Regions from separate parts of the Homo sapiens genome. Here region 2 is linked to region 1. The links are contacts of gene promoters, found by promoter capture Hi-C in blood cells and fetal thymus (Javierre and others, 2016). All regions are on one chromosome and are shown on one strand. The core of a region is centred on a gene start or on the middle of the fragment in contact, and the rest is flanking DNA. Distances in the headings are between cores, read along the strand shown.

Evidence for each region. The method cuts DNA at HindIII sites, captures the fragments that hold promoters and counts their contacts. A CHiCAGO score of 5 or more calls a contact.
Region 2: a contact is called between a fragment that was not itself captured here and the fragment with the promoter of IGSF9B in region 1, in 4 of 17 cell types (activated CD4 T cells, total CD8 T cells, naive CD4 T cells and 1 more). The highest score is 9.9, in activated CD4 T cells.

What each region holds. Positions count from the first base shown.
Region 1 is chr11:133,953,538-133,958,989 of GRCh38, forward strand. It overlaps IGSF9B (immunoglobulin superfamily member 9B), which reads right to left and starts at 3,431. Exons shown (of 20, transcript NM_001277285.4): 1 at 3,154-3,431. The coding sequence starts at 3,217. RefSeq lists a silencer at 3,260-3,609. The HindIII fragment of the contact is 2,603 bases long and covers 1,714-4,316 here.
Region 2 is chr11:134,314,037-134,319,488 of GRCh38, forward strand. It overlaps GLB1L3 (galactosidase beta 1 like 3), which reads left to right. Exons shown (of 20, transcript NM_001080407.3): 18 at 294-405; 19 at 4,595-4,711; 20 at 4,841-5,452. The coding sequence ends at 4,906. It also overlaps the pseudogene LOC100421417. Among named protein-coding and RNA genes, the nearest start is that of GLB1L2, 15 kb to the right of the region's middle. The HindIII fragment of the contact is 698 bases long and covers 2,857-3,554 here.

The DNA of each region.
Region 1 (5,452 bases), core at 2,181-4,680:
TTCATTACCAAAAGGAAGCATAGGTCAAGGCCAGGTAGAAAGTAGAGGGCAATGGCCCAACTACCAGCAGGATCTGAGTCAGAACCTCACTGTATTTGGGGACACTGTAGTCAGGGATAATGTAACGACAGAATCTGTGGCAGACAGAGGAGGCAGCCGTGGGAGTAAAGTCTGGGACTTTCCTCCCCTATCCAAGGTCCACAATCAGCTAAGCACGGCCCAGGGTCCTCCCACAGAGTAGGAACTCCCCCGGGCTGGCTCAGCAGCCGTCTGAGATACTGAGTGCACACCAATCACTGTCTTCCAGGTTCTGGGTACCACTCCAGCCCCTCTCTTCTCCACACTTCCCCAACCTGTCCACTGACCTTAATCACCTCCCAGGCACACACACTCAAAGTCAAAAGGAGGAGCCCATTCCAACCTCTGTCCCGCACCCGAGGGCTGATGGAGTCGGGTCCCAACACAACATCATCCCTTTCCCCCTCTGCCAGAGCAGCCCCTGCTATGGCCAAATCCTAAGGGTGGCATCTCAAAGTCCCTCCTGCTGAGGGACTGCCCCAGAAGTCACCTCTGCCAGTCAGGGAACAGCTGAGCTCTCACAGGGAGACTCAGCAGCATGTGGACACTGGCTGGTGCTGCTCACACGAGCGGGCGCCCACCCGCTCTCTCCAGAGGCTGTGTGTTGCAAGCCCTCACTTCCCGGGCTGTGTCCTTCCATAAACCTCTGGCCACCAACAACACTCCAGCTTTGGAGACCTTGCAAAGGACTTCCGAGCAGCTTTGAGGCCCGCACATCCTGCACACGTGTCCCTGGGATGCCAGGGACAAGAGGTTCTGCCCAGACAAGGTCAGCCCAGAAAGGGGTCTTACTTCCTGACACAGGCAGCCTTCTGAACTTCCCCGCAACACATTCTCAGCTCCTAGTGCCCTGAATGGCCCAAGGGAAAGAAATTGAGGAGGATCTTGGAATCCCAGGGACACTGAGAAAATAATGTTAATGTTTACTGAGCACGTACTATATAACAGGTAGTTGTTTTGTTTCCTTATAACACTCATGTCCACCTAAAAACCCTAAAAGTACATGCTATTGGCACATTTTCTATTGAAGCAAGTGACATTTAGAGAGGTTGAGAATTTGTCCAAGGTCACAGGGTCGGCAGGTGACACAGCCAGAATCTGAATCCCAGTCATATGGCTCTAGACCTAGGTCCTTAACTACCACACACAGAGCAATTGAGGCTAAGAAAGACCCCAAGACCAGCAAGGTCACCCTCTGCTTCCAGACAGGGGTACATGTCCAGCCATTCCAGACAGAAGGACCCCTCTGCACCCTGAAAGAGGGCATAACCTTCATGCCAGGCAGCCTTCAATTTTGGGAAGCCCTTCCTTCTATCTTGCGATTCTGCGTGTTGCTGCAGTATAAACTCACATTCCTTTATTCTGGGCTGAAACTTGCAAAGAAGTCCATTGCCCACCCTGACTTAGGTTCGGAGGCTATTTCAGAGCCTTCCTTCAGCGTCTCTTTTCTATTCAAAGATCCCAGCTCATCCTTTTGTGCTTTCAGGGACAGTCCCATAGCAGGAACATACCAAAAACGGGAGGGGAGGAGGATGCGGGCATTGGAAGACGGCAAGGAAATGGGGGAGAGGATGAGGCTACAGGCAGACTGTCAAGCGCAGCCCGATGCACCTCACATCCACCCCCCGTTCCGTAAGCTTCCGCCATCACCCTTGCCTCAGTGTTCCCACCTGACAAATGAAGAGTTTTAAAACCGTCCGGACCAACATGTCAGTTAACAAAATCACCCTTCGCTTCGCCCTCTGCTCGTTCTGTTTTCAGACACCACCACCCCCCTCAGAAGCAGAGGCGACATATTCATTCCATTCCGGAAAGTTTCCTGAAGCACGCCCCCCTGCACAGACGAGTGACGAGGGGACCCCGTGAGAGGCGCCTCCAGCCCACCCGGCGCCCCATGCCGCTGGGAGAGGGTTCTCTGTCGGCGAGTCCTGCCTGCTGACTCCCACCCACAGCGGGTTCTCTCCCGCCGCCATCTCCTCCGGCTTGGTGAACTTGCCCGCAGCCGGGTCGTGTCTGCGCGCTGACAGCCCTGAGCTCACAGTCCTGGCACCCTCCAGGCTCCGCTCCCACTTCCATACAAGGGCCGAGAGCCGGGGGTGCCACCCAGAGGCTTGTAGGTCGCTCTGCCCATCTCCAAAGCAAAAGCCCGCGCGCTCACGCACGCATCACCCAACTCGGTGGCTCCCCCCTTGCGTCTCCCCCAGCTCAGACCCAGGAAAGCGGAAAGAGAAAATCCCCCCTCCGCTCGGATTCACAGCGTGGGGACCCCCCCTTCCCCGCCCCTCCCCTCCCCCGCCGCCGCCCCCAGCCAGCTCTGCCTCGCAGCCTGGGGAGGGCGGCGTGGGGCCCGCGCGGCTGCGGCGCGCTCCCGGGGAACTTTTGCCTGGCCGGGGCCCAGGTGCGGCTGAGAGGCGCGGGGGCCGGCGGGGTCCAGCCAAAAGCGGACACACCTCGAAGCTGGCCTCATCAATCCTCCTCTCACCGGGCGCCCCTGCTAGGGGGATCCGACCTCCAGCTGCCAAGATGTGTGGGCAGGAGGGGCGCGAGCGGAGCGATGGACGCCCGCAGGGCCGCGCGAACCCGGGGCCTTAGACGCGGGTGCCGCCAGTCCCAGGGATCCTCCGGGTCGCGCCTCCCTGCAGGCGCTCCTCGCGGCGCGGGGCTCTAGCGTGCTGCAGCCTGCCCGGAGACCGCAAACTCCCGCAGCCAGAGTTTCCCGCAGCTCTGGGAGGCGGCCGCCGGGCAGGAGGCGACGGGCTAGGCGCGCCGGTGTGCACCGTGGGGCCCGTGGTGGGCGAAGTCGACCCAGGTTCCACTGCGTCCTTTCCCCGAGTGCCCGGCAGCCCGTGGGCTCTGGCCCCTTCCCGCCCGCCCCTCCAGCCCACGGCCCCCAGGCCCTCCCCGGCAATGCTCCCGGGCCGCCTGGCCCGCGTCGGAGCCCAAGCCTCACCCGCGGGAAGGCGCGCCGGGGAGCTGGGGAACCGGGGGGCCAAGGAGCCGGGAAACCGAGGGGCCGGGCGCGAGGGGCCGAGGGCGCCGGGAGGGGCAGGGGAGGGACGCCGCACTTCAACTCACCTTCAGCCGCAAGCCCTCGGGTGCCGATCACACTTGCTATGAAAGTGGCCACATACCAAATCATAGTACTACCGCGCCAGCCCGGAGCCTCATCCTATCGCAAAGTGCTCCCGCGCCCGCACGCGCCTCGCGCCCGAGCGCCCGCCTCGCGCCCGCCTCGCGCCGCCTACGCCCCGCGCCGGTGCTCCTGCAGCCCGGGTGGCCAGCTCTCCATCCCTCCTAGGCTCCGCTCGGCTCGGCGCGCGCCTCCCCGGCCCCGGCGCAGCGGCACCTGCACTACTCGCCCGGGCGGAGCGCAGCCAGGTCCACGGTGAAGCCTAGCCGGGCCGGGCCTCCGGAACCGCCCCCGCCGCCCGCCTATTGGGCGCCGCCCGCAAGCCGGGGGTCCGATTGGCTCAGCCTTCCGCCCGTCGCGGCGCGAAGGAGGCGAGCCCATTTCAAGGTGCGTTGAAGTGTGGCGAGCACAGAGCCGCAGAATCATGCGCATTGCCGGGGAGAAGGTGGTATAGCGTCTCTGCCCGCTTCTCTCTCGGCTCACACTGCGTGGCAAGTTTCTGGTGAGGGAAATGGTAGCTTCTAACGGGACCCTGGCGGGTCTCAATTACCCCGGACAGGTCTGAGGGAAGTGGAGCCCCCGCCCACTCATGGAACCCAACATCCGGTTTCCATCCGGCAAAAAGCAGTTCCCGAGAGGACCATGCTGATTCTATGATGGGGAAACCCAGGAGCCGGCGGCCCGGGAGAGCCGGGGAACGTCCTTCGCCGGAGATCTTTTCAAAGAGGTCACGCGCCGCCTCCCCACCCCGTCTCCCTCCGCACCCAGACACGTCCCCAGAGCAGCGCACCACCCCCTCCAAACGTGATGCAGACCGGGGGATGACTAAAATGACCTCTCAAAGTCGCTAAGATTTAGAGTGAGTCATTGGCTCAGCTGCGAAGTGCCACAGACCCCTCAGGAACACTCGTGCACACACACTCCACCCCCAGTGCTGGTCACTGCTGCTCATCATTACTGAATCCCGACTCCAAGCAGTCAAAGTTGGGTCTTTTTCCCACTTCTCCTGATAAAGGCTGCTTCCTCACGCACATGGTTCCTCCCCTCTCCACCTTACTCGGAGCCCAGCCCCGACTCGGCCGCATGAAACCAAGATGGGTTTGGGGGAAGCTTTAGGAGTCTGGGATGGAGGAGACCCAGGGAAAGGGAAGGAGCTTCTCATCCTACAGAGGAATGTAAATAGGAAACTGGAAGGTCTTCGTATGTTCCAGTCTCCCTACCCTAGCCTGTCTGCTTCCCCTCCCCCAATACAGTTGTATTTGCAGAAGAAATAAATGAGTGTCATGGAAACATCTACTACAAACAATCACCTCACACCAGCGCTCAGAGGCTGCAGTGAAGATGTTTGTTCTTTCAAGGAGTGAAGGCAGTGGTAAGAATCACACCGCTCCCTGGGATGGGCTGTTGGCCAAGGAAGGAAGGCAGAGGGTCAGCGAGCGAGAGCTCAGGAATTTCATCCTCTCAAAGCACTCGTTAGCCACAAAGCCCTGGCTCCAGGACATGAAGCTCCCAAAACAACAAGAAGGAGACTTGCTTCTGGGAAAGCGTGCACACAGGTACACACACATGCACAAAAAGTGGCCTTGAACACCGGAGGTGGAGCATTCCCTGACACCGGAAGCCTCTTAGCTCACCGCCAGCTGGGAGGCAGAAAGAGGCCCCCAACAGAGCAGTCAGTGAGCACATGGATAAAGGTCGAGGGCCTGGATAGATCCAGAGAACCAGGACTGTTGAATAACCTTCTACCCTACCCACCCCTCCACCTGTGCAAACACACTCAAGATGCATAACTTGGGGCCATCTCTCCCTGAGCCATGATTTTGGTTCTCTTCTTGGGCAAAGATGCCTTTCTGGGGACAATGAAGTGAGCTGCTCCAGGTCTCATTGATGCAGTGATCTCCAGGTCTCATTGATGCAGTGATTTCCAGGTGGCATGACCCAGAATAACTCCACCCCCAACACACACACACACATATACATACACACACACTTACACACTTTCCCAGGGCCCCGGGACTGTAAAGACATATTGGAATCCATTTGCAGAATTGGTCATAACAGGATCCTTCTCCTCCCACAACCTCTAAGCAGCTAACTGTGGCCTAGAGAAAAGTGCCGGATCCACAAAGCCTGGCCCTAGTTCCTCACCATTGTTAGGTATGGAGTGGGAAACATCAGGTCTCAGAGAAACCCTCTCCTAGGGGCCTGCAGGGCAAGGAAAAAGATGGAGCCACTCTCACCACC
Region 2 (5,452 bases), core at 1,956-4,455, 360 kb after region 1:
CAGCTGGCCCCCAGTGCACACTTCAGTGATCGGGGAACTCAGAGATTTCAGATTCCTCATTGCAGATAAAGAGTCCAAGATAGAGACTGAGTGATGTACTCCAGGCTGTTGGGTACTTCGGCGTCAGAACTAGGGCCCTGGAACAAGTGTCCTGATTCTGATCTTAACGCATCTAGTCTACTCTATCTCATTGAAACAGAACCTTAGGCTCGGCCCACGCCACCTGGGGTGGGTACTGGGAACTGGGTTGGGAAGGGGACTTCTTCTCCCCCATGGCTTGGCCTTTCTTCCAGGCTCCGCTCTGCCACCTGGAAGCCTGTCCCAGACAGCCACCAGGGCCCGGCCTTCTACTGTGGGACCTTGAAGGCTGGCCCTTCTCCCAAGGACACCTTCCTGAGCCTGCTGGTAGGTGATGCCCTCTGCTGCCCTGGTGTTCCAAACACCAATTTTATTTTTAAAGAGTCCTGAAGCAAAGCCAGCGTTCCTGGAGGAATACTTCCCTTTCTTCTTTTCCTCTTCTTCCTCATCTCCAACCAAGCCTTCCAACATTGATCAGTCTTCCTAATTTATCACTGTTCAGAGAATAACACATCAAAGCACAATTAAAAATTCAAACAATAACAAGAGGGAGAGAGCAAAGCATGAAGTTCGCCTTTGAACCCACCCCCATTCCAATTAGTCTCTGCTTCTCAGAACTCAACACTGCCAACAGTGGTACATTTTTATATATAACTTTGCCTGAACACACACGTACACAATTATTTTTACACTAATAGAATTGTACTATGTATTCTGAAGCTTGCCTTTTTTTTCTGTGTGGGGTGAGTTGGTAAGTTAGTTTTTACTTAGAATATCTTTTTCTGTATAAATACACATAGATAACATAAATGTACAAAATGTGAATGTACAGATCAACAAATGATCACAAAGTGAACACCATATAATTATCACTGAAAGTTAAAAATATTGTTGGCACCCCTCCCAACTGCTGCCTTGACTTCTAACACCCTAGGCCAGTGTCTCCTATTTTGACTTTATGTAAATGGAATCATACAGGGCATCTTTTTTAAATATGTTTTCTTTTGTTCAACATTGTGAGGTTCAGCCATTTATCGATGTTGCAGTGATTTGTTCATTTTCACTGTTGTATTGGGTTCATTTAGTAAATACATTATAATAATTTATTTAACCATTTTACTTTTTCTGAACATTTGGATTATATCTAGGGCTTGTCTATGGTAAATAATTAAGACTTCGTTTGTGTTTATGTTCATAACTGAGATCTCTTTGTCAGGTTTTGGTGCCAATGTTTAGGGATCTCATAAAGGATTTAGGAAGGCGAATTTGTGTAAGACAAGTATCACTTCTTAAACATTTAATGGAGTTCATTAGTGAAGCCTTCTAGAGCTGGCATTTTCTTTTTGAAAAAGTGTGTGAGTGTGGATTCAATTATTGAAAGATTAAAGTACTATTCAGATTTTGTTTCTTTTAAAGTTAGCTTTGAGAAAATATATTTTTCTGGAAATTTTCCCATTTCATCTAAATTTTCAAATATATTGCCTTTAAAATATTCGTTTTTGATGTCTAGATCATTGGTAGTAACGTTCCCCTTGTCATTTGTTACAGGATATCGATGCACTCTTTTTTCTTGATAATTCTCACCAGAACACTATCAATTTTATTAATTGTTCAAAGTACAGTGTTTGGCTATGACTCTTACTGTGTTAAGTATTTATTTTCTGATTCTGTCATTATCTTTATTATTTTGTTTATTCAATTTCTTAGTTTAGGATTAATTTGCTTTATTTTTATAATGTCTTGACATAGATACTTAGATAATGGACTTTCAGTCTTTGTTCTTTTTAATTATATGAATTTAGGTTATTAATCATCATTTACGCGTGGATTTGGTTGCATCCTCTAAGTTTTAAAAAGATTTTTTGAGGTAAAATTACATAACATAAAATTAGTTCTGTTAAAGTGAACGATTAAGTAGTCTTTCATGCCTTCACAATGCTATGCAGCCTCTATCTCCAGTTCCAGCACATTTTCATTATCCTATAAACATTGGGCAATTACTTCTCCATTTTCCCCTTCTCCCACCGCCTGGCAACAGCAATCTTTTTATTATCTTTATGGATTTGCCTATATTGGAAATGACTCCCATACCTTTTTTTTTTTTACACGTAGAATAAGAATAAATTTATTGTATTTATTTTCATGACTGAAGAATTACATTCTTCAAAGCAAGAATTCAGAATGTACATAATTATAAGCCATATTTCATATCAGTGCATTATTTTTATATTATACTTTCTATTATATGGGTAATGGTTCATATTGAAATACAGAAAAAATAAGTTGTAAGACAAGCGATGTCTATATAGGAAGAGATGAATCATTTTAGTGTCTTATTAGTTGGATAATTGCTGCTTTAAGGTTGCCATGTTAGCCTAACAGTTTAATCATAACTATAAATTCTATCTAAAAAATAATAAAGGTTTCATAACAAACAGCTGATACTAAAGGTGAGCACTTCACCTGTAGGTGCTTCTCTGAAGGTGTCAAGTAGACTTCGGTATGTGCATTTTAGAATGTCTTAAAGATGATTTTGTAAGGAGCTGGCAGGCAAATTAAGCCCAACAAAAGAGAAGGTCTGCAAATTATCCTGCAGGTTAGGGCCAATCTTCTTGAGTCTGCTAGGAATTATAAAATACCTACTCTTGCTCTTTCACCTCTAAGTTTTAAGTTGGAATTTTACTTTTCCTTCATACGGCTGTGTGGATTGTTGAAGGTCACATGCTTCACAAGCACTTGCCCATAATGACAACTTCCATGTTTTGGGGGACATTGAGAAGCTTCCCTGGGTCCAGAACTTTGCTATAGTAGGGCTGTGCTTTCTTCTCATATTAAGGCAAATAGTGTAGACCGAAGGCGCCATTTGGCAGGTAGTATTCAACCTGAGGCACTGGATGTCCTGGAGGCAGTGTCCAGAAAGCTGCAGGCCACTCTGGGGGCCATGTTGTTGCCGGGGGGAAACTTGATGATCTTTACCAATCAGTTTATACTTTTTGTGGATTCTTGGTACTGTTTAAGTTCCTTTCTTTTCAAGTTGAAGGACTTCCTTTAGCACTTCTTGTAAAGCAGGTCTAGTGGCGATGAACTCCCTCAGTTTTTGTCTGGAAGTCTTTATCTCTTATTCATTTTTGAAAGACAGTTTTGCTGGATGTAGTATTCTTGGTTGCCAGTTGATTTTTCTTTTAGCATTTTAAATATATCGGTCCATTCCACGCTAGCCTGCAAGGTTTCTGCTGAAAAATCTGCTGATAGTCTTATACCCTACAAGTTTCTATCAATTTTATCATCATCATCAAAGAATTCAAATATTTTCCAACTTCCTTTGTCATTACTTGTTAGATTTATGGTTTATTTAGAAGTGCTTTTCTTAATTTCCAAGAATTTGGATATTTTAGGGTTATCTTTTTTATCAGTTTCTTTCTTAAATGCATTATAGTCTGAGAAGTTTATGTGAAGACTAGTTTAATACAGGATCAAGCTTGTAAATATTCTGAGGTATACTTGAAAGAATATGTGTATACTGTAGATGTTAGATCAATGTTCTATTATGTCAATTAGTTCAATTTTGTTAATCATCTTCTTTTAAATGTTTTATGTCTTTATTGATTGTTATTTGCTTTGCCTATTGACTATTGAAAGGTTGTATAAAAATTTCCCGCTATGGTTGTAAATTTATTTATTTCTCTTCTGTCAATTTCGCTGATATGTTTTGAATCTCTGCTTTTATCTTTCTTATGTATGTTGTATATACATTTTTGGTAAATTAAGAATTTTACCATCATGAAATGTCCCTCTTTATCTCTAATAATGCTTCTTGCCTTAAAGTATTATTTTTCTGAATATTAACAGAGCTATAGCAACTTCCTTTTGGTTAGGGTTTACATATCATTATCCATTGTTTTTCTTTTATTTTTCCAATGCCTTATGTTTTTGATGCTTCTCTTATATGTAGCATATAACTACTTTATTTGAAATCAAGACCAGCAACCTTTGCCCTTTAATTTGAAGCATTTCAGAGACTCCAATTTTATGTGCTAGACTGTTTTGTTATATCCCAGAATAAGCAGGTGCCTCTAGTGGAAAAACTGCCTAGATGTCTCCTTGTCTCTCCATTTTCTTCTTCTAGATCTTGATCCTGTAATTCTTCATTATATTGCAAGCAGATTTTTAAAAATGTGCAGCTTTTATATTAATAGCCACTGTCAGCAGTGGTGTTCATCACTATTACCTGATATTTATTTCTGGAAGTAGAAGATCTGCTTTTTAAAATATATAACATTATATATCACATAACAGGAACAATAGCAGCCTTACCATTAAAGGGTTGGTTCTATTTATGCTTTTCTCTTTCATTCCTAGACAGCAAGGTAGAAGTTCTATAACATATCCCACTCTAAACTCACCTTCATTTGAGTGCCATAAAGTATCTCAATCTTGCTCTCACTCTCCAAGTGCCTTAGGTTTTACCTTGCTAATGTGAACCAATTTCCAAATCTCAAGCCACCATTCCTTTCAGAACTGGAATTATGGATTTGTGTTCATCAATGGACGTAACCTTGGGCGATATTGGAATATTGGGCCTCAGAAAACACTGTACCTTCCTGGAGTTTGGCTTCATCCAGAAGACAATGAGGTATGTCACTCCAGTCTCTGCCTTGAGATCTCATAAACTTTCAGATCAAAATGTGAGTTGCAGTGTCTTTTTCAACCTGTACTAAATAGGCTTCACCTTTCCCACTGTCAACCTTTCTTTTCTTCTCAGGTCATCTTGTTTGAGAAGATGATGAGTGGCTCAGATATCAAATCTACAGACAAGCCCACGCTGTAAAACTGTGTCTGAACATTTTTTTTTTTTTTTGAGATGGAGTCTCACTTTGTCGCCCAGGCTGGAGTGCAGTGGCACAATCTCTGCTCACTGCAAGCTCAGCCTCTCGGGTTCACGCCATTCTCCTGCCTCAGCCTCCCCAGCAGCTGGGACTACAGGTGCACGCCACCACGCCTGGCTAATTTTTTGTATTTTTAGTAGAGATGGGGTTTCACCAAGTTAGCCAGGATGGTCCCAATCTCCTGACCTTGTGATCTGCTCTCCTCAGCCTCCCAAAGTACTGGGATTACAGGCGTGAGCCACCACTCCCGGCCGTGAACATATTTTTTGGGTTGCTGGAGTTCATCTATAAGTCATTTTTGAGGAATAAGATTTATGTTAAGACTATCAAACACAGTGTTGCCTACAATAGCAAAAATGTGAAAATAACAACAACAACAAAACAGCAGAGGAATTGTTATGTATTTTGTAGTCTATCTATATGATGCCTATTTTTAGGCTTTAAAAAGTCTTCAAAATCTTTAATGACTGATTTATCTAGTTAAATGC